Regions from separate parts of the Homo sapiens genome. Here regions 2, 3, 4, 5, 6 and 7 are each linked to region 1. The links are contacts of gene promoters, found by promoter capture Hi-C in blood cells and fetal thymus (Javierre and others, 2016). All regions are on one chromosome and are shown on one strand. The core of a region is centred on a gene start or on the middle of the fragment in contact, and the rest is flanking DNA. Distances in the headings are between cores, read along the strand shown. Region 1 holds the start of MYCBP2 (MYC binding protein 2). Region 2 overlaps SCEL (sciellin). Region 3 overlaps MYCBP2 (MYC binding protein 2). Region 4 overlaps MYCBP2 (MYC binding protein 2). Region 5 overlaps SCEL (sciellin). Region 6 has its middle 13 kb from the start of SCEL. Region 7 overlaps MYCBP2 (MYC binding protein 2).

Evidence for each region. The method cuts DNA at HindIII sites, captures the fragments that hold promoters and counts their contacts. A CHiCAGO score of 5 or more calls a contact.
Region 2: a fragment that was not itself captured here is called in contact with the fragment with the promoter of MYCBP2 in region 1 in 5 of 17 cell types (M1 macrophages, total B cells, M0 macrophages and 2 more); the score reaches 9.3 in M1 macrophages.
Region 3: a fragment that was not itself captured here is called in contact with the fragment with the promoter of MYCBP2 in region 1 in 3 of 17 cell types (activated CD4 T cells, total B cells and naive CD8 T cells); the score reaches 6.7 in activated CD4 T cells.
Region 4: a contact is called between a fragment that was not itself captured here and the fragment with the promoter of MYCBP2 in region 1, in 2 of 17 cell types (naive B cells and activated CD4 T cells). The highest score is 7.0, in naive B cells.
Region 5: a contact is called between a fragment that was not itself captured here and the fragment with the promoter of MYCBP2 in region 1, in 2 of 17 cell types (naive B cells and total B cells). The highest score is 5.8, in naive B cells.
Region 6: a contact is called between a fragment that was not itself captured here and the fragment with the promoter of MYCBP2 in region 1, in 2 of 17 cell types (naive B cells and total B cells). The highest score is 5.7, in naive B cells.
Region 7: a fragment that was not itself captured here is called in contact with the fragment with the promoter of MYCBP2 in region 1 in 1 of 17 cell types (total B cells); the score reaches 5.9 in total B cells.

What each region holds. Positions count from the first base shown.
Region 1 is chr13:77,325,480-77,328,599 of GRCh38, forward strand. MYCBP2 (MYC binding protein 2) reads right to left here and starts at 1,615. Exons shown (of 83, transcript NM_015057.5): 1 at 995-1,615. The coding sequence starts at 1,296. LOC127898562 reads right to left here and starts at 1,509. Exons shown (of 1, transcript NM_001414702.1): 1 at 1,426-1,509. The coding sequence starts at 1,509. The coding sequence ends at 1,426. It overlaps LOC107984564 (a long non-coding RNA gene), which reads left to right and starts at 1,566. Exons shown (of 2, transcript XR_001749930.2): 1 at 1,566-1,656; 2 at 1,785-2,719. RefSeq lists enhancers at 1-94, 1,765-2,094 and silencers at 1,035-1,154, 1,195-1,574. The HindIII fragment of the contact is 13,146 bases long and covers 1-2,819 here.
Region 2 is chr13:77,567,459-77,570,578 of GRCh38, forward strand. SCEL (sciellin) reads left to right here. Exons shown (of 33, transcript NM_144777.3): 6 at 222-290; 7 at 837-875; 8 at 1,913-1,993. Among named protein-coding and RNA genes, the nearest start is that of SCEL, 33 kb to the left of the region's middle. The HindIII fragment of the contact is 952 bases long and covers 1,101-2,052 here.
Region 3 is chr13:77,098,655-77,101,774 of GRCh38, forward strand. It overlaps MYCBP2 (MYC binding protein 2), which reads right to left. Exons shown (of 83, transcript NM_015057.5): 56 at 1-359. Among named protein-coding and RNA genes, the nearest start is that of MYCBP2-AS2, 19 kb to the left of the region's middle. The HindIII fragment of the contact is 1,081 bases long and covers 1,010-2,090 here.
Region 4 is chr13:77,115,150-77,118,269 of GRCh38, forward strand. All of the region lies in intron 55 of MYCBP2 (MYC binding protein 2), which reads right to left. Among named protein-coding and RNA genes, the nearest start is that of MYCBP2-AS2, 36 kb to the left of the region's middle. RefSeq lists an enhancer at 2,799-3,120. The HindIII fragment of the contact is 3,073 bases long and covers 73-3,120 here.
Region 5 is chr13:77,541,368-77,544,487 of GRCh38, forward strand. All of the region lies in intron 1 of SCEL (sciellin), which reads left to right. Among named protein-coding and RNA genes, the nearest start is that of SCEL, 7.2 kb to the left of the region's middle. The HindIII fragment of the contact is 964 bases long and covers 1,155-2,118 here.
Region 6 is chr13:77,521,351-77,524,470 of GRCh38, forward strand. No RefSeq gene overlaps it. Among named protein-coding and RNA genes, the nearest start is that of SCEL, 13 kb to the right of the region's middle. The HindIII fragment of the contact is 4,999 bases long and covers 1-3,120 here.
Region 7 is chr13:77,135,022-77,138,141 of GRCh38, forward strand. The region is part of intron 52 of MYCBP2 (MYC binding protein 2); the gene reads right to left. Among named protein-coding and RNA genes, the nearest start is that of MYCBP2-AS2, 55 kb to the left of the region's middle. The HindIII fragment of the contact is 7,593 bases long and covers 1-3,120 here.

The DNA of each region.
Region 1 (3,120 bases), core at 365-2,864:
AGCAAAAAAAAGCACCCACATTTTAAGAAAAAGAAAATGAAACCAACTGAACATCTACATCAAGGAAGCTGAAGGTGTAGCCAACCCAAGTAAAAGAGACAAATCTACGCGCTATTCAGATTTTCTAGCTAGTGGCAGTTGAACGCTGTACCAGCTGTCATATTCTGAAGTTCTGCAGTTTTCCCCTTTTCCCTACAAAACCCTCTCTACTCTAAAGCCTGTAAGTAACAGAGGAAATCGAACAGAGGATGAAGAGAAATGGCCGATGGGACATCAGATCACAAGAGTAACTGCAACCTCATTTCTAGAAGACCAAAAGGCCCGGTTATCAAAGTACAGCTCTAAAAATCTCTATCAGACACCTTTCGCATCCACACAGATCTCCATCTGCGTCCCTTATTCATAAATCTTTTTAAAGCAAACCTCACGCCTATCCCTCGGGCCTGCTTATCCAAAACTCAACCAATCTATACCATGACTCCTCTTGGTGAAAGGCAGATTGAAGGGAGGTGGAAAGGGCTGGAAGGAATGTCATGGGAGAGGCGGCACGTGCAAATAACATTGCGGCAGAGACACTGAAAACGCCACTTCCCTTGCCACTGTTGCAATTCTCTTCGTGTATCATCCTCTTACCCTCTCTACCCATGCCACCTCCTACCTCAACGATACACACACGTGTCACAGCCGACCAGCACCATCGCCTTTTCCAGCATCACAGGTTCCCCTACCACCCCTCACTATCCCCCCACATAGGCAGGCAGACACACACACACACACACACACACACACACACACACACACACACGAGAAACTGCAGCCACCGCACCCTCCTATCTCGATAAGTGCTCCTGCCAACAGACATCCAGAGCGGACTGAAAGCTCAATAAATGCGCAGGTACACACACGCAAGCACACACACACGCGGGTGCACGCGCGGCATGGGGCGCAAGGAAGGGCGGCATGGGGCGCAAGGAAGGGCACCCTGGGGACGCACCTGGAGGCTGGGTGTCCAGCGCTGCCGCCCCCCTGGTCCCTGTCATTGAGCGCAGCGGTATAAATCCTCCGGTAGCGGTCGGCCAGGGCCCGGCCTGACAGCAGCAGCTGGTAGTGACCCCGGGAGTCCGCGGCGGGTAGCCCCAGCCCCAGCCCCGCAGCAGCCACGGAGCCGTCGGGAACCGGCATGAACAGCGCCCCCGGCGCCGGGGAGGAAGAGAAGGTGGCGGCTGGGTAGAATCCGTCCCCGCCGAGCCCCGAGGAGGCGGCGGCGGGGGAGGCAGTCGCTGCGCACATCATCATCCTCGCCGCCGCCGCCGCCGCCGCCGCCTCGTCCCCGCGGGCCGGGCGGGCAGACACGCGCGCGCACACACAGCCCTTTTCCAACGACGACGGCTCCGGCGGCGGCCTCTGGCTCCCGCAGCAGGGAGACTACAAAGACAGCGACCTCCTTCTCCTCCTCCTTCTTCTCCTCCTCCCCCCCGCGCCGCCCTCGCCGCTACTGGGGCCGCTCATCTAACCCCGCCACCCCGGGAATGTGAGGAGGAGGCGGTGCCGCCACTGCCGCCGCCACCACCGCTACCACCGCCACCACCGCCGGGGCTACCCGCAATGGGAAGCTGCCGGCCTCACAGAGCATGCGCCACTCCTCGCACATGCTCAGTAACTGCCGCCCCTTTTCCTCCCCACCCCCTCTCCGCCACCACTCCCTCCGCCTCGGGGCTTTGGGTTTGGGGCTGTTGGGTTGTGCGGAATCTGAAGTAGTCCACTTCTCCGGGTTTTACTGGCAGCTTGAAGAAGAGTAAGGAAAGTGCTGGGGAGGCTGTCAGCTACTGACGTTCGACTTCAGGTTCCCTCCAGGTGGAAGAACGAGGACCAGAAAGCAAGGGGGAACGTGCCCATCGCCAGAGGAGGAGTGGCACGCTCTTCTGCTACCTCTTCTCCAAGGCTCTGCTGCCAACAGGAAGATTTACTGTGAATTGTGCTGGTTAATTCAGAGTTTAAGGCAGAGAAAACCATCCCAATTAGAAGTGCCTTTAGCGATCTTATTTTATATGGTTTTTGTCATTAGGATTTACGCTTGTTTAACACAGCTTTTACTTACAAAGACAGGTAGTAATCTAGCACATTCTTTTTTGTGTGTGAAAGTATTTTGTGTGTGAAAGTATAACAGATAGGCTAGTATTCACAAGCCAGAGTCATTCCCAAATTCTTGTTCTCAACGGAGCAATAATATTTTTTAAATTACTCTTTTTTATTGACTCCTCACTCACCTAAGAGTGCACTTTTATCTCTTGGCAGTGGTCATTTAATGGTTTATTTTTTTCTGCCCAAACTTACATTTTTAAAGATAATTCTTGAATGCGATCTGAAACAATAATTGTGACGGAGACTGTATAGCGTCTGAAAATGTCAGATCCATCACATATCTTGTTGTTGTCTATAAAAAAGTAACATTTGCTCAGTCCTTTGTTCCAAGCTAACCTACGAACCCCATCTAAGTATATGCTCTAGAAATATACGTGCCAATGCACTTTGATTCCTACTACGTTTTATCCTTTGACTCTCAATTTGAAGAGTTTCCTAATTTACAGTCCTGACAAAATAATTTATAAGTTCTGTCATCCCAGTACTGTATCTTTCATCTATGTACTAGTTCTTATATCTGTGCCTCTTCTTCGGATGGCCTTCTCTTAAAAAAAAATAAAATAAATGTTAAAAAATCCTCCTTAGTGTTTGAGAAGTGCAAACAACAAGGAATAGGAAAGTAAATTAATTCTAGTTTTAGGGTGGAAGGTTGCTGAAAGCAATGCATTTTTTTCTGAAGCTTTAAATAATGGATGGATTTCATTTAGTTTTTTTAAAGATAATTAGCAGTGGGATAAACATAGGAACAAAGGACAAGACATGTGGAATCATAGTATTTTAGTACTGTAATTAGCCCTGTTAAGTTTTTGTATTTGTCTTGTTTCCTTACCTAAGTTCCTTCAGAGCTTGCTGCTTTTGTGTCTCCTTCAGCCACTTCAGGACTTTGCATGTAGTAGGTATCCAGTAAGTATTTATTAGACTAAATTTCTATCCTAATGCTTCAGCACAGTTAAAGACCTCAGTGTTGACCAGGCAGCC
Region 2 (3,120 bases), core at 327-2,826, 240 kb after region 1:
ATAAAATAAAATTTCAAACTATATTAAAACAACCTCATAAGTAGATTTTGTCATAAGTGGTTTCTTTTTATTTAAAAATTTTCTAAAATGTAACACTTGAAAAATAGTTCTCTTTACTAGAGAAAGGCTATGTTGTTAAGCTATTCTAGCATGAAAATGGTCTGAAAGGAGTTTGATAATTTAAATATTTATCCAGACTTTTGTCTTGTTTCTTTATAAAGGATCTCAGACAGAAATGATGCTGCTAAAACATATAAGGCCAATACCTTGGATAACCAACTAACCAATAGGTACCAGTATCTACTAACTATGGGAAAGGCTCAAGTATAATATTTTTCTAAGTGTTACCTATGTACTTGCAATTCTTCAATCCTACTTGATATCTTTCTGTAAATTCTTAGTCTCTATCATTACTCCTGTTCATGGCTAGAATAAAACCTTGTTGTTTAGCTTAAGAATCAAGAGCACTTGTAGCTCCAAATCACCATTCTTACCACATTTATGTTTCTGTTTAAGTTGTCCTGGTGGCAAAATTATGAAATAGGTGCAAATGCAAATTTTACATTATTATTGTTAAGGAAAATTACTGAACCCAACAAATAAAAATATTGGGCTTAAAAGATACTAAATTTTCAGAAGAAAAAAAATTCTTTGGAATCTAGTACAAGAGACAAAATCATGAAATCATCTTATGAAATTTATTAAAATATGATGCTTTCTATTTCTTTCTCTCACCAGTGTCTAACTTTTAAAACTCTAAATTCAGGAATAATTCCAAATAGATGCAAATGTTCATTCTTCATTGTTCAAACTTTGCTTTCTTTCTCTCTTACCAGGAGCATGTCCATGTTTAGATCACTGGAAGTAACAAAGTTGTATGTATTCTTTCTAATTGTAGTATATTTCTTTTTATGTATTCAAGAAAAACCAGGGAAAACCACCTCAGGCCAATTTTATTGGAATACAGCCATGCCCCTATTGCTCTGGCAGAGTTGAGTAGTAGAAGACAATACCAAAATGGTCTGTAAAGGTTCAAATGTGACTATCTGGACTTTTGCAGAAAAAAAAGATTGCCAATCATTACTCTATCCAAACACCAAAGCTTAGATCATCCTTTCTTTCTTCTTCTTTATTAAAATCTAGACTCCTTATTTTTTCCCCTACAGGACTTTTCTTCCCTCTACTCTCACAATAATTAACCCTTCCTCCACACCTCACTTCCTTCCCCACCCACCCTTCACATCTATGCCTCCTCCTTCAGAGAAAATTGAATTGGGAAAACATGGGGTGAGCTAAAAATCTATTTAAATGGAACACATTTTCCCTGGAATGTACTACTGATGGTTATAAGCAGCCCAAATCAGACAGATTTATAAACTTACTTTATTTTTGAATTCCTATTTATGTATAAAGTAATTTATACACTGGATCACACCTCTCAGTGCTTGAAATGGGCCTGGGTCACTTCCATTTTTGAGGCTCTGCATATATGAATAAATGCCAGATAGAGACTTAAGATGGTATGATTTAAAATTTTTTATTAAGCAATAATGCTTCTAATGCAAAAAACCGCAACATAATTAGTTAGTCACAATATAATCACAGGAATAAAAGAAATGTGAATCTGTAGCACGCCAGAATTGATTTGTCTGAATTTCCGACAGTTAATGTCATTTTATGAATCACTTCTTTATTCTATTCCTTTAGTTTTAGCTAGTTCTATGAGAACCTGACAACTTCTAAAATATGTCAACTAAGGAAGAAGATTTTTGGCTGTTTTTCTATCCCCAAGTGAAACATTTTATGAACAGAGAGCAGGCAGGAATATGAGTAGAATTTAAGACTTTTCAAAGGTAGGCTGAAATGAAAAAGTTTGAGAGTGGGATTAATTGTTGTTCTTGTCATTAAACAGGCAACCTGGCGGTTCATTGAATGCCAACACCTCCAACACCATAGCATCCACTTCTGCTACTACTCCTGTAAAGAAGAAGAGGTAGGATGAACTCACTGTGTCTACCTCTTGCTGATACACTATGAAAGACTGCATTAGAAAGCTTCCTCCTCTTTTTTGTGGGGATCCAGCATCTACATTCTGCTGTTCCCAAACTTCAGCTCTTTCCCCCAGCAATCTCTTTCTCAAATATAGAGTCTTGTTTTCAATTCCTGTAGGGCCTTGAATTTCTAGGAAATGTTTTAGATGATAGAGCTCGCATGTTAAATGACAGACTACTTGAGGTAGCATGTTTCATGGAGTCCTGCTGCTGGGAATGCCTTAACCTGAAATAATGATGAATGTAGGGCCACATGCTGCCATGCTCCTGAAACCGGCCTGTATCTGGAGATGCCGCCTCTGCTCTGTGGATTGGGCTGGCCTTGCTTCCAAATGCAGAGTCAAAGACCCTTTCTGGAGACATCCATCTGTATTTGTTTGGTTCTTGCCTCCTCCACCGACCTCCTCTGCATGGTCTCCCACATTCTGCTGGTGCTGAGTCCTATGTAATTAGCAGGTACAGAGGAGTAGTTGGACCAATGGTGACCAAATATTCTTCATGAGACAGAACATGATGGTGAAAGAGATGTTTGCATGTTGAAAAAACCCCAGGGCTATGAATTGTGATGCAAATGGAAAACAAGCATTTACAAACATCAGTGCTTTTAAATTTTCTCAATTTCCCTGTCTGTACCTGGGTCCATGCTCTGTACAGGGTAGGTGCTCAATGTTTGTTGATGGACTGGCTGACTTTGCCATGGTGCTGCTGGAGAAAAATGACTGATTCTGTTTTTTCCTTCAACAAAATTCTGGCTGTAGCTGCAAAGTCTTAGAAAATGTGATTCATCTTTCCATTGAACCCAAATTTCATGTCCCTTGACCCTTTGCCTAGTAAAAACAGATTCCTAAGTTTGAAAGAGAAATTTTAGGTCAGTCAGTTCCATCTCCTATCTAGTGCAAGAATCTTTCCTCCGACATTTTGGGCATAATTCGGGACCACTGAAGCCATCAATAAGATTCTCACTATTTTGGGACACATCTTTGACTTGCTCTCCTGGGTAGCATCTATTCCTTACATTGAGCTGGAATCTGCCTTGATTGACTCGTTCCTTGTCTTAGTTGAGTTCTGC
Region 3 (3,120 bases), core at 300-2,799, 230 kb before region 1:
GCTAGACCTATTGGCTGGGAGAGTCTTTGGCTTAGGAGATGACAACCGAGAACCTGGTCCTGGGGATTCAGCTCTGGAGCTAGAAGGCATCCTCCCATCAGATTTCAATGTCTGCAAGGTGTTATGGTTGGGGGATAATGACCTACTGTGGGAATCTGACCTCAACTTTGCAGCATCAGATTTTAAGATGAGGGATTCACTAGCAGATAAACTTTCTGTGCCCCTTGGCTTCTTCTGATCAGCAGTAGTCCGGCTCATACGTCCATCAGGTTTAAGCGATCTGCTGTGTTTAGAGGACAGCTCTGATTTTCCTGATGTAGAGGCTGGTTTAGAAGATGTTGAGATGTTTCCTCGATCACCTGTATGGTCCATTTTACAGTGAAACTTATTAATAAAATTATAACTTACTGATAATTTAGCCACTAAACACTGAAATAAAAAAACATAGCTACAAAATTTATATTGTTTGTCATACATACTAAAATACTTGAAGAATAAAGGAAAGAAGGGGGAAATATTTCTAATAAAATTTCTACACATCATTACACAACATTACCACCAAAAACTATTTTCATGGACGCAAAACAACAGGTTGAACAAATCCAGTGTGAACTATCAGTGATATCTCAACCTCTGCCCTAGTGCAATAACTAGTTAGAATTTAAATTCAGTGAGGGACTAGAAAGAGACAGAAATTAATCTTTTGGGGAATAAGAAATTATTTAATGTGAAAACTTGTATTTTAAATGTAGAGTAGAGCTAAATTTCCAGCAGAGTGATACCTCGCATCCTTAGGGCAACGGTATGGGTTTTGTTGAATTAGAGAACTGAATTTATGCATAGACACAATTATAATTTTTAAGTGTATGCATACAATTAGGCTAACAAAGAGTTGCTTAAGAGGCACTCTGTTTTATGATCAGATTAGACTAGTTTACAATGAGCACATGAATGCCCTGAAGCTGTTATTTAATTATTTATAAACAGGTTACACTCCAAAAGTTCAGGAAGCTTAGCTGCTTAGAACTCAGAGCCTGTGTTCCCTTGGAAACCACAGAAACGGTGGATCCTCAGAATGAGTGGTAAAAGTCTGAACTGTGGACCCTCAAAACAAGGAGTCAGGAGAATGACAGAAAAACAGGATGAAAAGAAGAATCACCTCCCTTTTCTAAGGCAAAGCATTAGATGTTTCTGCATGGACATTAATTGTTTTTAGCACCCTGCCTTCATTCAGTGTCTCTCCTTCATTCTATTTTATGCTTTTCTTTGAGGCATTAGAGCCAGGCTGTCTGTGACCCAAGTAAATGGTACAAACTTCAACATCACCTTTCCTCCTTAAAATAAAAACTTCTACTCTTAGTGCAAGTGATACCAGTTAGTTGTTAGGAGAAAAGCAATCTGACTGAAGGGTTTCAAGTGGTATAAAAAACTGAAAATCCATAAACCTATCTGGAAGTATTTATATTTTTTCAAAGACAGTTCCTAGGAAATTAAGGTAGATTTGTTAACTGGCTATAACTGCATGTTATTATTTTTTAAAAGAAAAAAGGATGTGAACAAATTCAGATGATGTAGGAAAATGTTTTTTATGCTTCCGTGCATGTGTTAAGTGTGTATAGTCACGCTCTATTTCTCTATGGCTCAGGACAGTAGTGCTGGAGAATCTGCCCCAGTCTTTGTCAAGGGCAGGTATTTTTGTCTGTTACTCTTCACTGATGTAATACCAAGAATGAATCCAGGAATACAGTAGGTATTCAATAAATATGTGTTGAATGAGTAATATATTCCAATTTTCTTGATTTTTTTCTTCTGCTACTCCCAAGTATTCAGCTTCTCCAGAAGTCTACTTTTTACAATTAAGGCTCCCAAGGCCACAGGACAGAGGTGACATTAGTTATTGATGTGCAAGGGTTAGATGCTTGCAAACTGAGTAATTACATGGTGAAATAATAGAGTATGGCAAGTACTTTATACAGGGCACACTGATGAACTAAATGTTTAATTGCAACATGCCAATATTTAAGATAATTTTTCCTGTTCTTTGGATGAATAAAAGTAACTAAAACATAATGCTTTTTAGTTTCTTGCAAAGCTTCATTATTCAATCATTAACCTCCTTTATCATATTATGTGCTCTGTTTTATAAATACAGTATTAACAGATGGGGCTAAGTTTTGAAAAAAGGGTTAAAAAAATCCCAATTTAGAATTCTAACTATCAATGCTGTCTTGGGAGAGCACAGATAAACAGATGTGATCTATGAATAAGTACCCTTAAACTGTTCAAAAGTAGTTCAAAAAATTGCTACCCATCTAATCTTACTGACCTAGTAACAGCATATGGCAAATTTGGTAAACAAATTATATTTGGTAGATTAAATCAGTAGTCATGGCCATTAATTTTGAGTATGTGATGTTTGGAATACTTGTTTTTTGTTATTAATCTGACAGCTGGAGACATGTTTATCACCTTTATCATCACATTTATTTCAGAAACTGAACCACACATAATGGGAATCTAGACAAACAATTAGTAAGTCTTTTATATTTGGTATCCCTTTCTCCAAAAAATCCATCTGTAAACTGAAAGAGGTTTTCTCTCTAATTTATAAAAAAGGACAACTTGTGTAGGATTTCTAACAAATAGGAAGGGTTCGTGACAAAGATTACCTACTCCCTGTGTCAGATGTGTCTTAGTGGTTGACCTGCACAACAGCTGCATGCAAAGGAATGGTGAATACCTGCTGATGCTACCTCTATTCTAGGAATGCATATGAACTTACAATGGTAGGTTATTTACTCATCATGAAAACAACCTCTGTGGTTGCCTGAAAAATGGAATCTGCCAAATACCAGGAACACCACTTGTCATATGTGAGCAAAAAAGTTTATTACATAGTGTTAGAAAGAATAGGCATTTGTATATCTTATTATATCTCTAATAGTGGTGAATATTTTCTTAAGATCTGTAAGTGGTGACAGCTAAATACCTGTTGAAGTTTAGGCATACAAATAATGGCAGAAATATTTCTTTTTCAGATGTATTTCTCAAATGATAACTAAATCTTTTTGAAAAATTTATTTTTCCAAAACGTATTTTATATATTAAAAAAAACTATGC
Region 4 (3,120 bases), core at 359-2,858, 210 kb before region 1:
TACAGTCAATAAACACTCCTTGAATGCCTGTGATGTGTAAGACACTGTCAGAAGGTACAGGACATAAAATGAAGCTTTCAAGAGAAATGGTGATAATGAAAATAAGGAATGTAATATTCTTAAAGAAAGCAGATACAGATATCATTCTCCACTTTGGTTCACTAAAATTTTTTTGCCAAATTGCTTACCAATTCTAAAAACTATATAATTAGTTTTTAAATTAAAAAGTAAATTGTAGAACAGTAAAGAAAATTCTATATACATACTTTTCTTTTTCATGTCTCTGTGTGCACACACATAAGACAAGGGAAATTTGTTAACTTTTACTTCTATAACATTCTACTTCACTAGAATAACACTTGAAATAATTTCTACGTATATAAAATCAAATAATTTTGCTAATTTAAAAATTACCAAATATTCTATTTTATGGAATAAAATGTTGCCTGATTCTAAAGAAAAGGTATCAAAAATTAACTTAATGTGCCAGATTATTTTCAAATTTCCAAAGATAGGTGTAAAAACTATGATTCGGAAAAAAAAAACCAAAGAATTACAGATAATAATGCTCATAGAAATGCTAGATGAAGTTAAACCATGCACCGGTTGATGTGTGTCTTTGTAGAATTTTTCTAGTTAACCAGGATCTTGAGTTATGACATTCAGGAAATCTTTTTTTCCATTCAAACTACTGTTACATTAAAAAAAGTCAAACTATAAAAAGAAAAATAATCAATCTGAACAAAGCTAATACTCTAGATGCCAGACCTAGTTTAAATATAAATTAAAAATATATATATATTAAAGTAGATTTTGCATTATTTACCGAGGTAAGGCTGAATATTTAAAATAGCCTTTGTAGTCAACAGAATTGACCTCAAGTTCTGGCTCTACCATTTTACTATGTATGTTTCTGGGGCAAATCATTTATCCTCTCTAAGCCTATGTTTCCTTCTCTGTAAAACAGACATAAGAGACAGTATCTCAAATGAGGCTGTATCAAAGTGCTTAAGTACAGTGTTTACTACATAGTGGCGACTATCAGTATAAACAAAGTTGAGTAAATATGGTCTTCTACATAATGATTTATTTAGTATCACAAAGGTATAAAACAAAAATAAATCTCATTTTACTAAATAGCATAGGGAAGTTCACTAAGAATAAGCCATCTTCTAAAGCATAGGTGATATACTAGTGGGATACATGGTAGTGAGGTTCAGGGAAGAATACCTTGCTTGGGGAGTCTTAAATGTTGGCACTTTGCCACATTTACCTTTCCCAACACGGTATAAAAAATACAATTCTGAATTATTTTAAAAAATTAAAACTATTTTCAGATTCCATACTTTTTTTTGTGATGCTAAAGATTAAGACTTCCATTTTCTGGAATTTGGAAGTCAAAATTTAGAGACGTCCTGTTGCGAATAAGAAGTTTAAAACAAGACCTAAGTAATTTCCATTGCTGGACTATAGGCAAGTAATGATTCAGAAAATTGCTAATTGAAACATAGCTAAGCCATGATTTCAAATTTGCTTCAAGATAGTGGTAAATAAAGTGGTGGTACTGATAACACATATGCATAAAATTATATTGACACAATGTCACCTAGAAACTGTTATTCCCTGGAAGAGACAAATCAACTTTTATTACTGTTTATTGTTTTGAAATATTTTATTAATTAAATTTGGTAAAATTAAAATGGTAATTATGCTTGTTTTTGTAAAGACTTGCAATGATTCTTTAGCTAGAACAAAAAGGTTCTCCTTTCTCCTTAGTTCTTTTGTCTGCTACTGCTATGACACAGGCAATTTTTCATTTAAAACTGAATTTGAATATGAATGAATTTAAATTTTCTAGTATAAATTTTCTACCTGACTGATCCTGATATTTTTCCTTTGTTTTTCCCTTTGTCCTTACCTTTAAAACTTCTTGAAACCTAAGTAGTACTTCTAAATGTAAAAAGTCTGATGCAACACAAAATTAATAAACTAACTCCTCACTTCTGTTTCATTCTTCTAAAATAATATTTATCATAGAAGGAAAAAACTATTTCGCACATGTGACACTATTTTGTTTCTTTGAAATTCTTCTCTTAATAGACATTCAAATTAATATTATACATGAACGAACATGATAAGCTAGAAATTGATAGTACTTATATTTCCAAACTAATTAATTTCATCAATTAAACTTTCCTAATGGATAGTGGAAACCCAGAAAAGTTTATACTCTTGTGTACCCTTTACCTAAGGTGGATAAAGTAATGAATAATATCATTTGCTAGCTACATACTAACCTAGTTTTTAATAAAAACTAAACCAGCTAGCATTCTTTTACATGACCCTAATAACAGTTATTAAAGTATTTTTGTAAACAAATAACTTAGACCTAAGTGTGAATGTACTTTACCAAAGCAAAGAGGTTGTGCATTTGAATCCGAAAAATGGTATACAAGCTGAAACTTTCATAAACTAGCTCATTCAATTAATGTGTTTATATATTGTATAGCCAACATGAGAACTGAATGCCAAGAAGAACACACTGTTGTCATACTGGACAGAGCTTTGAAAAGTTTAGGTGGAAGGTTCAGGAGGTTATTAAGAAAAAAGAACACTCAGTTAAGTATAATTTTTTTGGGTATCTTTTCCAAACCAATGTGAATTACTATCATGAATGAAGGACTAGAGCAATCCTAAAAGACAGAACTGGAATCAAATGATCAATTTAACATATTAGGAACAACAACAAAAAAATAAAAATAAAGACAGGAAACAACAATTTGAGAAAACCGGGAAAACTAAATTGTCATACATTTCATAGATACCAAATTCACTTAGAAAAAACAAACAAACCTGTCCAAACAAGTACAGTCTCTCTTCTACCCACTGATAAGAGTGAAATGGCTTTATCCTTTTGGGACATCTTGAAGTAAGAAAAATCCACTGAAAGTTGTCCCTGTATGTGATGCTTACCATAGTCATGCATATGAACTTTAAATCAACTTTAAATGTCTTAGCTGCAGAATGTCTTAGCTCAGAATAGCTTAGATATTTCAAAAATGTGGGAGGGGATAACATCCTAATTAAAAAAAACCAGTCAGGTGAGTTGATAACTAATTA
Region 5 (3,120 bases), core at 387-2,886, 220 kb after region 1:
TATGTTGCTGGTGGATGATAAACTACTATAAGATTTACGGAAAGAAACTCGACAATAGGGATCAAGAATATTTTAGAAATTATACATCTTGGCAAGTAATTTCACTTCTCGGATTCATTCAAAGAAAATAATCAGATACTTGGTGAAAGACTTTTGTATGGTTTTTTAGAAACAACAGAGGAATGATGTTACATTGATAAATAAAATGAGATATTTTGTAGCTGCAAAATAAATATTTAAATATTCTTAAATGGCATTGGAAAATGCATATCAGTAGGCTCTAAATGGGCAAAGAAAAACCCTGGAAGAAAATTACAGTGATTGATTAAAGGTGTCTGATTTTTTTTTCCTTTCTTTATGCTTTCTTGTATTTTCCACATTTTATATATGCTTTCTTGTATTTCCACATATGTTCTAAATATAGTGAGAAAGATTTATGTTGTGTAAAATTGGGATACAGAACAGCTACATGACAGAGCTTTTGTGAATATGAAATACAGTAAAGTATTTAAGATAACTAACAGGGTTTTGGCTCATAGTCTGTGGTCAAAATTTGAGTTTTTACTCATTTAACTTGTATTTTCAGCTAGAACTGAAAATAGCCCCTGATGGGGCTCAGGTGATAGATAACTTTTATTGGATAGCTTTTTTATTAATGAATATTAGACCAGTGTTTTTTGTAAAATGAAATAATTATAGGCCACTATTCATGTTAAAGCTTGCTGTTATCATTCTGCAGAAAAGATGGGCTGTAAGAAAAAGAGCTGGTGAGGGTTGTGTATTAAAAACCAGAATCAGGCCGAGGCAGGCGGATCACGAGGTCAGGAGTTAGAGACCAGCCTGACCAACATGGTGAAACCCCGTCTCTACTAAAAATACAAAAATTAGAGAGGCATGGTGGTGCGTGCCTGTAATCCCAGCTACTCAGGAGGCTGAGGCAGGAGAATAGCTTGAACCCGGGAGGTGGAGGTTGCAGTGGCCGAGATCACGCCATTGCACTCCAGCCTGGGCTACAGAGCAAGATTCCGTCTCAACAAACAAACAAACAAACAAACCCCAGAATCAACAGTGAGAAAATTGTATGGTAGGGGCTTTCATTTGTGCTACATTCTGGACTCTTGTTTCACCAGCAGTAAACAAGTTTCCCAATGCTAAGCTTAGATTGTGAGGTTGTGTGACTGAAGAAATAGCTGCTTTCTAACCATCACAGAAGGCTAAATGAATCTTTCCCAGCCTGATGATTTTTGGATTTCCTTTTAGGCTGTGTATTCAGGCTAAACACAGTTGTTTGTTTCTGAGAGACTATTTAAAAATGGATTTAAATAGACTTGTTAATATTTACACTTCATGAAGTACTGTTTGTTTTCCCCTTACATATATTTCTTGTACTTTTAGGTGGTAATTAGTTGTTTGATGGTTTGTTTTATTTATCTTCCAAAAGATAATTCTTCTGTTTATTGATCTGTAATTATAGAGCCCCTCTTATTCTTCTACTGAAAATGGTTTTATGGCATTTGTCCTTTTCCAGTTCCTAGGGATTTTCCCTGTTTCATTGATTTCCGGGAAACAAGTAGTGGTGGGGTTGGCACTGTTACCGCACCCTGAAACCCTCAGGACTTTTTCAGAAGCAAAAGTGAATACCACCAGGGCAATTTGCCACCCTGTGTCATTTTCTAGACCCCTTTTCTGTATTTGTTTATTTATTCTACTTTAGCTTTTTTTTTTTTTTTTTTTGAGACGGAGTCTCGCTCTGTTGCCCAGGCTGGAGTGCAGTGGCGGGATCTCGGCTCACTGCAAGCTCCGCCTCCCGGGTTCACGCCATTCTCCTGCCTCAGCCTCCCAAGTAGCTGGGACTACAGGCGCCCACCACCACGCCCGGCTAATTTTTTGTATTTTTAGTAGAGACGGGGTTTCACCGTTTTAGCCGGGATGGTCTCGATCTCCTGACCTCGTGATCCGCCCGCCTCGGCCTCCCAAAGTGCTGGGACTACAGGCGTGAGCCACCGCGCCCGGCCAACTTTAGCTTTTTTATATTCTCCATCACTAAAGAGATTTGCCCTGGGCAACTATTGACATTTGGTCTTTTATAAAGATAGTAATTTATAAAAATATATTAGAAGCTTGATAAATTGATTGAAAGATTTTGGGGTAGTTAAAATATCCAAATGTCACTCTATGTAAATCTCATGATACTTTGGTAAAATGATCAAAGAAAGTCTGCTCCAATTCTTCTCTGTTGAGCTCCACCATGGATCTCCATTGTTGCCATCTTTATGTCCATGAGTACCCAATGTTTAGTTCCCACTTATAAGGGGAAACACTTGGTATTTGGTTTTCTGTTTCTGCATTAATTCGCTTAGGATAATGACCTCCAGCTGCATCCATGTTGCTGCAAAGAACATGATTTCGTTCTTTTTTTATTTACCACTTTTTAGTCGAGTAAATTTCTTCCTGTTGACTCCTTTTTGTTTCCCGGGCTTCTGAGATAGGTACTGTGCGTCAGGCTGATTTGAGTTTGAATCCCAACTGGGCGATTCACTAGTTATGTAACCTCAGGCAAACTACTCATCTTGAGACTCCTTCCAGAAAAGAAATCTGCCTACATTTCGACCACTGCCCACATTTCCAACTCCTGCCCTATCCTTCCGCAAGAAGACTCTGACTTCACTGAAACCATTCATCATTAAGTTTCATTAAAGAACAAGTATAATAATAGTAACAACCTAAAGGCATGTAAGGCTTAAATGAGACAACACCTATAAAATATAAGCTCAAAATAGTTATTATTATTGTAGGACCCCAAATCTCAGCAGTCAGAATTGAAGTCCTTGTTTTTTTCTCTTTTCTTCCATCATCCTTTATTGTGTTAATTTACTTTCTGCTGCACATCTTTTTTTCTTTTCTGCCTTATTTCTCCTTTTCTCTTTCCTCTATGAGCCCTTCTTTAACCAATTTTAGTTTCTTTGTTCACACAATCTTTCTTAAGAGAAAGTTAGCAGGGAGTGGTAAAGACTTCGTGAGGTAAGCCAAGAGGCATTATGTCCTTGGGTGGGAAGGGAAGAGTGAGATTTTTAAAGTCTTTATGCTGAGAGGACCCAAAAGATGATGAAGATTCTAGCT
Region 6 (3,120 bases), core at 383-2,882, 200 kb after region 1:
TCACAGATGATTCACGGGACCATGTCAATGGACTCCCATTCGGAATCAAGAAAGACTCAGCCCTTCCCCCAGGGTGACAGGCAGCTCACCTCTGCACTCTTACATGATTCACTCAGGGCAATAGCACCTTCATCACTCAATGGCAGAGCCTGCCCAAAGTAAGCAGACCACACATCAAAACAGAAAGCTAGTGCCCTCAGCTTGGGTCTACTAGGATCCTGGTGATAAAAAGATAGAGGCTGGAACCAAATACCTCTTACACCTTTGACTTTTCTATGACCAATATTGCCTGTGGAAACAGGGTTAGAATGAAAAGGACCTTATTATCTCTCTGCTCACAGTGACTTGTAGGATTGAAAAAGAACCCTATTGGAAGCTCTGTTCTGGGCTGAAGCCTATCATCCCTCCTAGCATGAAGGAGATACTTGAGTCATTCTTACTGGGTTCCTGGGCTGCACTGTGAATGCCAGCATCTGCTTCACGGGAGAGGAAGGAAGAAAAGAGAGAAGCAGAAAAGATATTTATGCAAAGTATCCTGTATTAGTTCCATACTTTACTTGGTTCGGTATTAAGTGACTTCTTTTTTAATATCTTAAAGTAGCAGAGGAAGGTAGGCTACAGGCATTTTAATGTAAATGTGGATTTCTGGGTAAATACAATTTAATAGTGGTTTCTACTTTGTGGATGATCCTATGCCCCCAACTGAGGAACTTGTTCTTAATGCCACACTTCCTGGGGAAGACACAGCTGCCAAATTCCTTTGCACAATCCCTAAAGAATGTTTTTGCCTTGAAAGTGTATTTGCTCAGCCTTGTCAGGTTTGGCTGTGAAGGGTGGGTCAGCCCACTGGGTGTGCTGCATACCTTCCTGGAGAGACCCAGGAAGCTGCCCAGCTACGCAAAGGGCAGTCAAATCTCTAGGTGGAACATTAGAATTTGTTTACTATGGTTAGGAATTTGCCCAGAGGTATCTGAAGTGCTTTGCTGAGGCTTTCTGGATGATAATTTTTTTGTTGCAGTTTTTAAATGTTTGTTTGTTTACAGAAAATGACTTCACCAACATAATTTTTAACCTTTCTTGATTTACCTCTGTGAAATCAGTGAAATATATTGGCGCTGTTTCTAGAAATTTCTGCAGTCAACTCAAGTAGCACCTGAAAAAGTCCCACAGCCTGTTGGCCAGTACATGTGCAGGATGTACAGGTTTGTTACCTAGGTAAACATGTGCCAGGGTGGTTTACTGCACATATTGTCCTGTCACCCAGGTATTAAGCCTGGCATCCACTAGCTATTCTTTCTGTTCCTCTCCTTCCTCCCACCCGCAATCTTCTGACAGGCACCAATGTGTGTTTTTCCCTCACATGTGTCCACGTGTTCTCATTGTTCAGCTCCTGCTTACAAGTGAGAACATGCAGTATTTGGTTTTCTGTTCCTGTGTTTGCTAAGGATAATGGCCTACAGCTCCATCCATGCCCCTGCAAAGGACATGATCTCCTTCCTTTTTATGGCTGCATAGTATTCCGTGGTGTATATATACCACATTATCTTTATCCAGTCTATCATTGATGGGCATTTAGGTTGATTCCATGTCTTTGCTGTTGTGAATAGTAAAGCTGCTGATTTGACTGTATGACCCATCGCTTCACTAATTGAGCCTTGTCTTACTTCAGTAGAGACTCCTATGGGGTTTTTTTTACCCAGCTTGACTCCAGATTTTTCATTTCATTTTCATTCCATTACTGTTGGGAGAAATAAAGATTTGGAAGAAAGAGTCAAGGACAATAGATCTTATAAAGTTGCTTCATCAGAAACCTACTGGGGATTACTTTTGCTGTAAGACAGAAATTTCCTCCTACTTAATATTTTTTTTTTAATTTGGAACCCATCTATTTCAACAGATGTAAAATAGACCTTGGTTGGAAAAGGAAAGGCAGAGAGGGAATATCTGCTTATGGATATTAGTGATTGAGGATAATGCACTTTATGTATGCCCTTTTCTGTAGTTGAAGATGAATATAATAGTGTGTGGACAACACAACCTTTCCTTAAGTAAATGCGCATGTAAAAGTGGCTTACATTCCCATGTAGGATACAGGAAGAATAATATTTGATTCTGTGACATGAGCGCATCAATTTAGAAAAATTTGTTTCAGCTCACAATTTGCCATTTCGCCTGTGATGGCTTTTTCTTTTAATGGTGAGACTTAAGTTGTGACACTTGACAAGCCTTCATAAGGAAATACATCAATTTAGGAAAGTAGCATGTACTGCATGTGTCTGTATTGCTTTCTACATTTCTACACCTACTCATTTGACAGGGTTTATGGGAAAGCAAGATGGGTGAAGTGTGTGGGGAGGTTCATGTAGTGCAATGTTGGGGGTGCCAGGAAGGCCCAGTTTTCTAAGATAATCACACATTTTGGCTGTGAACGAAAGGAAATTTCAGTCTTTTATTCTGAAGACCTGCACTGGAATGAATCACAGAGCTTCTCCAGGAGTCTGACAGTGTAGGAGGGGGCATCAAGTCAACCAACTTTCCTTATGCCCTGTGGTTCTGGGTCTTTTCAGGCTAGTGTAGTTGCATAAGTAAAGATCAAACAATTCAATTTCCCAGCCTTTCTACATGGGGTTGGCCATGGGTGTGTAAGTTAAGGACTACTCCCTGTTTCTGTATTGCAGAATTATGGTTAGACTGGCTAAACAAGTCAGGTTTTGTGAGTGTTTCTGAGAGGAAAAATTCTACCCATGACACTGTAGGGCAGATGAAATGGTGAGAACTCCAGTATTAACTTCTAAACACAGAAAAAAAAAAAACACATGCTACCATGACAAGGCTTCTTAAGAGGACCATGGAATAGCATCCAATGGAAAGTAGGCTGGTAAGAGTGTTGCAGCAGAAGCACCAGCAGCAGTGGAGGTGGCAAGAAGCAGAGGGTTCAAAGCCTTGGCCTCTTCCTGTACCATTTGCCTGCTGTGAAATTGACATGTGGCTTAACCTTTCTGAATCTCAGTTTCTTCATGGATGAAACAAAGATTATAACAGTACTTTAGAAAGTTTTTATGAGAATGAAATCAGATAAGGTATATGTGCTTAGATGCTCATCAGACAGAATACATGGTC
Region 7 (3,120 bases), core at 306-2,805, 190 kb before region 1:
ACTTCCAATCTCTGCCCCCATTCCTCTCTCTATAGTTTGTTTGAGTTGGGATCCAAATAACGTGCACACATTGATGTCAATACAAAATTGTTTTAACTAGAAAAGGTTGAAGAGATAGACACAAACAGTGCTGAAGGCAACTTTTCAGTACTTTCACTTCTTTTTAAGTTAGCAGCATTGGTGTTTGAATACTTCTAATTTGATTTCATATCTCCCAGCTTTCATTTTTTTATTGAGTCATGTTTTACAATTAACAGCCATGATTAAAGTTCATTTACTTTAAACGAACTGAAGTAAGAAGGGAGAAAGATAGTTTTTCCAGCAGTAAATGTATAAGACATACAAAAGAAGAGGCAGCAAGATGCAACTATTTAGGTGTGTTATTTCCTTGAGAAGATGAGAGGGAATCATTATTCTATGTCCTACCATGTTTAGCCCTGCACAGTCAGATACTCATAAAAAAAATGTACTGACTGCGTAAGGGGTCTGCCCTAGTCCCTACAGAAAATCATACCTGTCCCTGCCTATGCCAGGCCTCTGACTCTGTATGAGTCCTCAGTTAATACCTGTACTGAAGTAACTTTATCCCAGATCTGTTTAGAGCCCTATGCCAATTAATTTTGCCATACTGTACCCCATCTGTCATCTTTGATCACCACCCAAAACATAAATCCTTATGTCATCTACCTGTTCTTTCATTTTTATACCAAACTGCTCTGTTTCTTCCTGATCCAAACTATTCCCATCCCCCCATGACTTTAAATTGTGTCTTATGGACCCCTTCCTCCAATGGTAAACACATTGTTTTTATCTTTTTTTTCTTTTTTTTTTTTGAGACGGAGTCTCACTCTGTCACCCAGGCTGGAGTGCAGTGGTGTGATCTCAGCTCACTGCAACCTCTGCCTCCTGGGTTCAAGCAATTCTCTGCCTCAGCCTCCTGAGTAGCTGGGACTATAGGCGTCCACCACCACGCCTGGCTAATTTTTGTATTTTTAGTAGAGACAGGATTTCACCATCTTGAACTGCTAACCTTGTGATCCACCCGTCTTGGCCTCCCAAAGTGCTGGCATAATAGGCGTGAGCCACCGTGCCCAGCCTGTTTTTATCTTTAACTTTGTGAGTCACATCATCTGTGTGTCTTCAAGTCCATGCAGATGATCTTCCACCTGCCTAACTTCTTAGTTCCTAGACTTAGGCACTTGTAGTGACTTCCACGTGCACTGCACTTCAGCCACCCTCCCATGGCAATGTAATAGAGTATCTCATTTGTTAAAGTGCCCTACCTATGATATCAAATACAAATATTCTACTTTATTGCCTGCATTTTTCCAACTCTTTAACTATAGTGCATTCACTATATTGTTCTAGGATTTTATTAAATCTTCTAAATCCCTTGGACCTTCCATTTGTCCTTTCACATTTCTAACTTAGGTCTGAGTCCACATTCCCAGAACTGATAATCTTAATTGCTATTTCTGTCACAGCAGCTCAGCAACTAGTACTATAATTTGCTTTCTTGGCTCTTTCTTGGCTCTTTTAATTCCAGACACTTAGGGCAATAAAGGACTAGGCAGGGGATTCCAGTTGGGTCTATACAGTGGTCTCATTGAGTCTTTAGTGGCCCAGTAATCCTTCAAACAATATTTCAAATATTCATTGCATTTCTCAACCCCCTAACTTAACTCATTCTTTTGATTCTGAACTGATCGTTTTCCTATCTTCTATTTTAAGGGAACTTGTAGTCTCCCTCAACCTCTTCCCTTCGTCCCTCCCTCCTCTAAAACATAACTACTGCCATGCATATTCCCCTCTCTTTTACAGAAGCAAGCTCTCTAAGGTGCCCTTAATTCCATTTCCTCCTCCTGTTTCTCAGTCTTCAGTCTTGTCATCTATATCTTTAATTTCTCCCTTTTTCTACTAGTATCTTTCTTTTAACTTATAAAACTCTCAAGTCACTACTACTCTTAAAATGAAGAAACCAAAAAAACCCTAGCTTCCTAACAATACCAGACACTCTTGAGCTGTTTACATTAACAACCTCCGCACTCACATTCCAGTGAAAACCACCCACAAGTATCTGTATGCCTCACTCCACTCCTTACCGCTCCTCTAACCTTTGTTACTCCCTTCTTTCCCTGACCTTAAGGAGACTGTCTACTACAGATTGTCTCTTGGATGGGGTTCAAAAGCATCAAGTAACAGAACACAATGCTTTAAAATAAAATCGTGGGATTCAGAATTGTGACAGATGGTACTTCTTGCTCTTCCTTTCTACTTTTGTTTATTGACTTGCTTTATCTGTGTGAGTATCTTTCTCTCCCAAAAGCAGCTCCTCAAATGAGCAAAGAAATCAGAGAAAATTTGGACTAGGAAGGTAGAAAAGATAATATAATCTGGAATAACATTTTATTAGGGACTTAAGAAAATTTTCTTAAATAAAACACACAATGGCCAGGTGTGGTAGCTCATGCCTGTAATATGAGCACTTTGTGAGGCCAAGGTAAGATGATCGCTTGAGCTCAGGAGTTTGAGACCAGCCTGGGCAACATAGTGAGACCCCATCTCTATATTTTTGTGTTTTTTTTGAGACAGAGATTCGCTCTGTCTCCCAGGCTGGAGTGCAGTGGCGTGATCTTGAATCACTGCAACCTCCACCTCCTGAGTTCCAGCGATTCTCCCGCTTCAGCCTCCAGAGTAGCTAGGATTACAGGTGCCCGCCACCACACCTGGCTAATTTTTTGCATTTTTAGTAGAGACGGGGTTTCACCATGTTGGCCAGGCTGGTCTCCTGACCTCAGGTGATCCACTGGCCTTGGCTTCCAAAAGTGCTGGGATTACAGGCGTGAGCCACCTCGCCTGGCTCTCCCATCTGTATAAAAAACAAAAACCAACTCCCCCTTGCCCAACAAAAAAGTCTATATTGGAAAAAAAAACTGTACAAAAGTGGTTGCTATAATTATCTCTTTAAAATACACTTTCATAGAGGGTCAAAATCCTTTTTATTTTTAACTGCAGGTATAAATCTGAGGAAAATTTAATAAGACGTAATTGATGTAATTTTTTAATTTAAAATTTAGTATTTTACTTATAGATGTATCATTGTTCAACTTAACCTCCGTA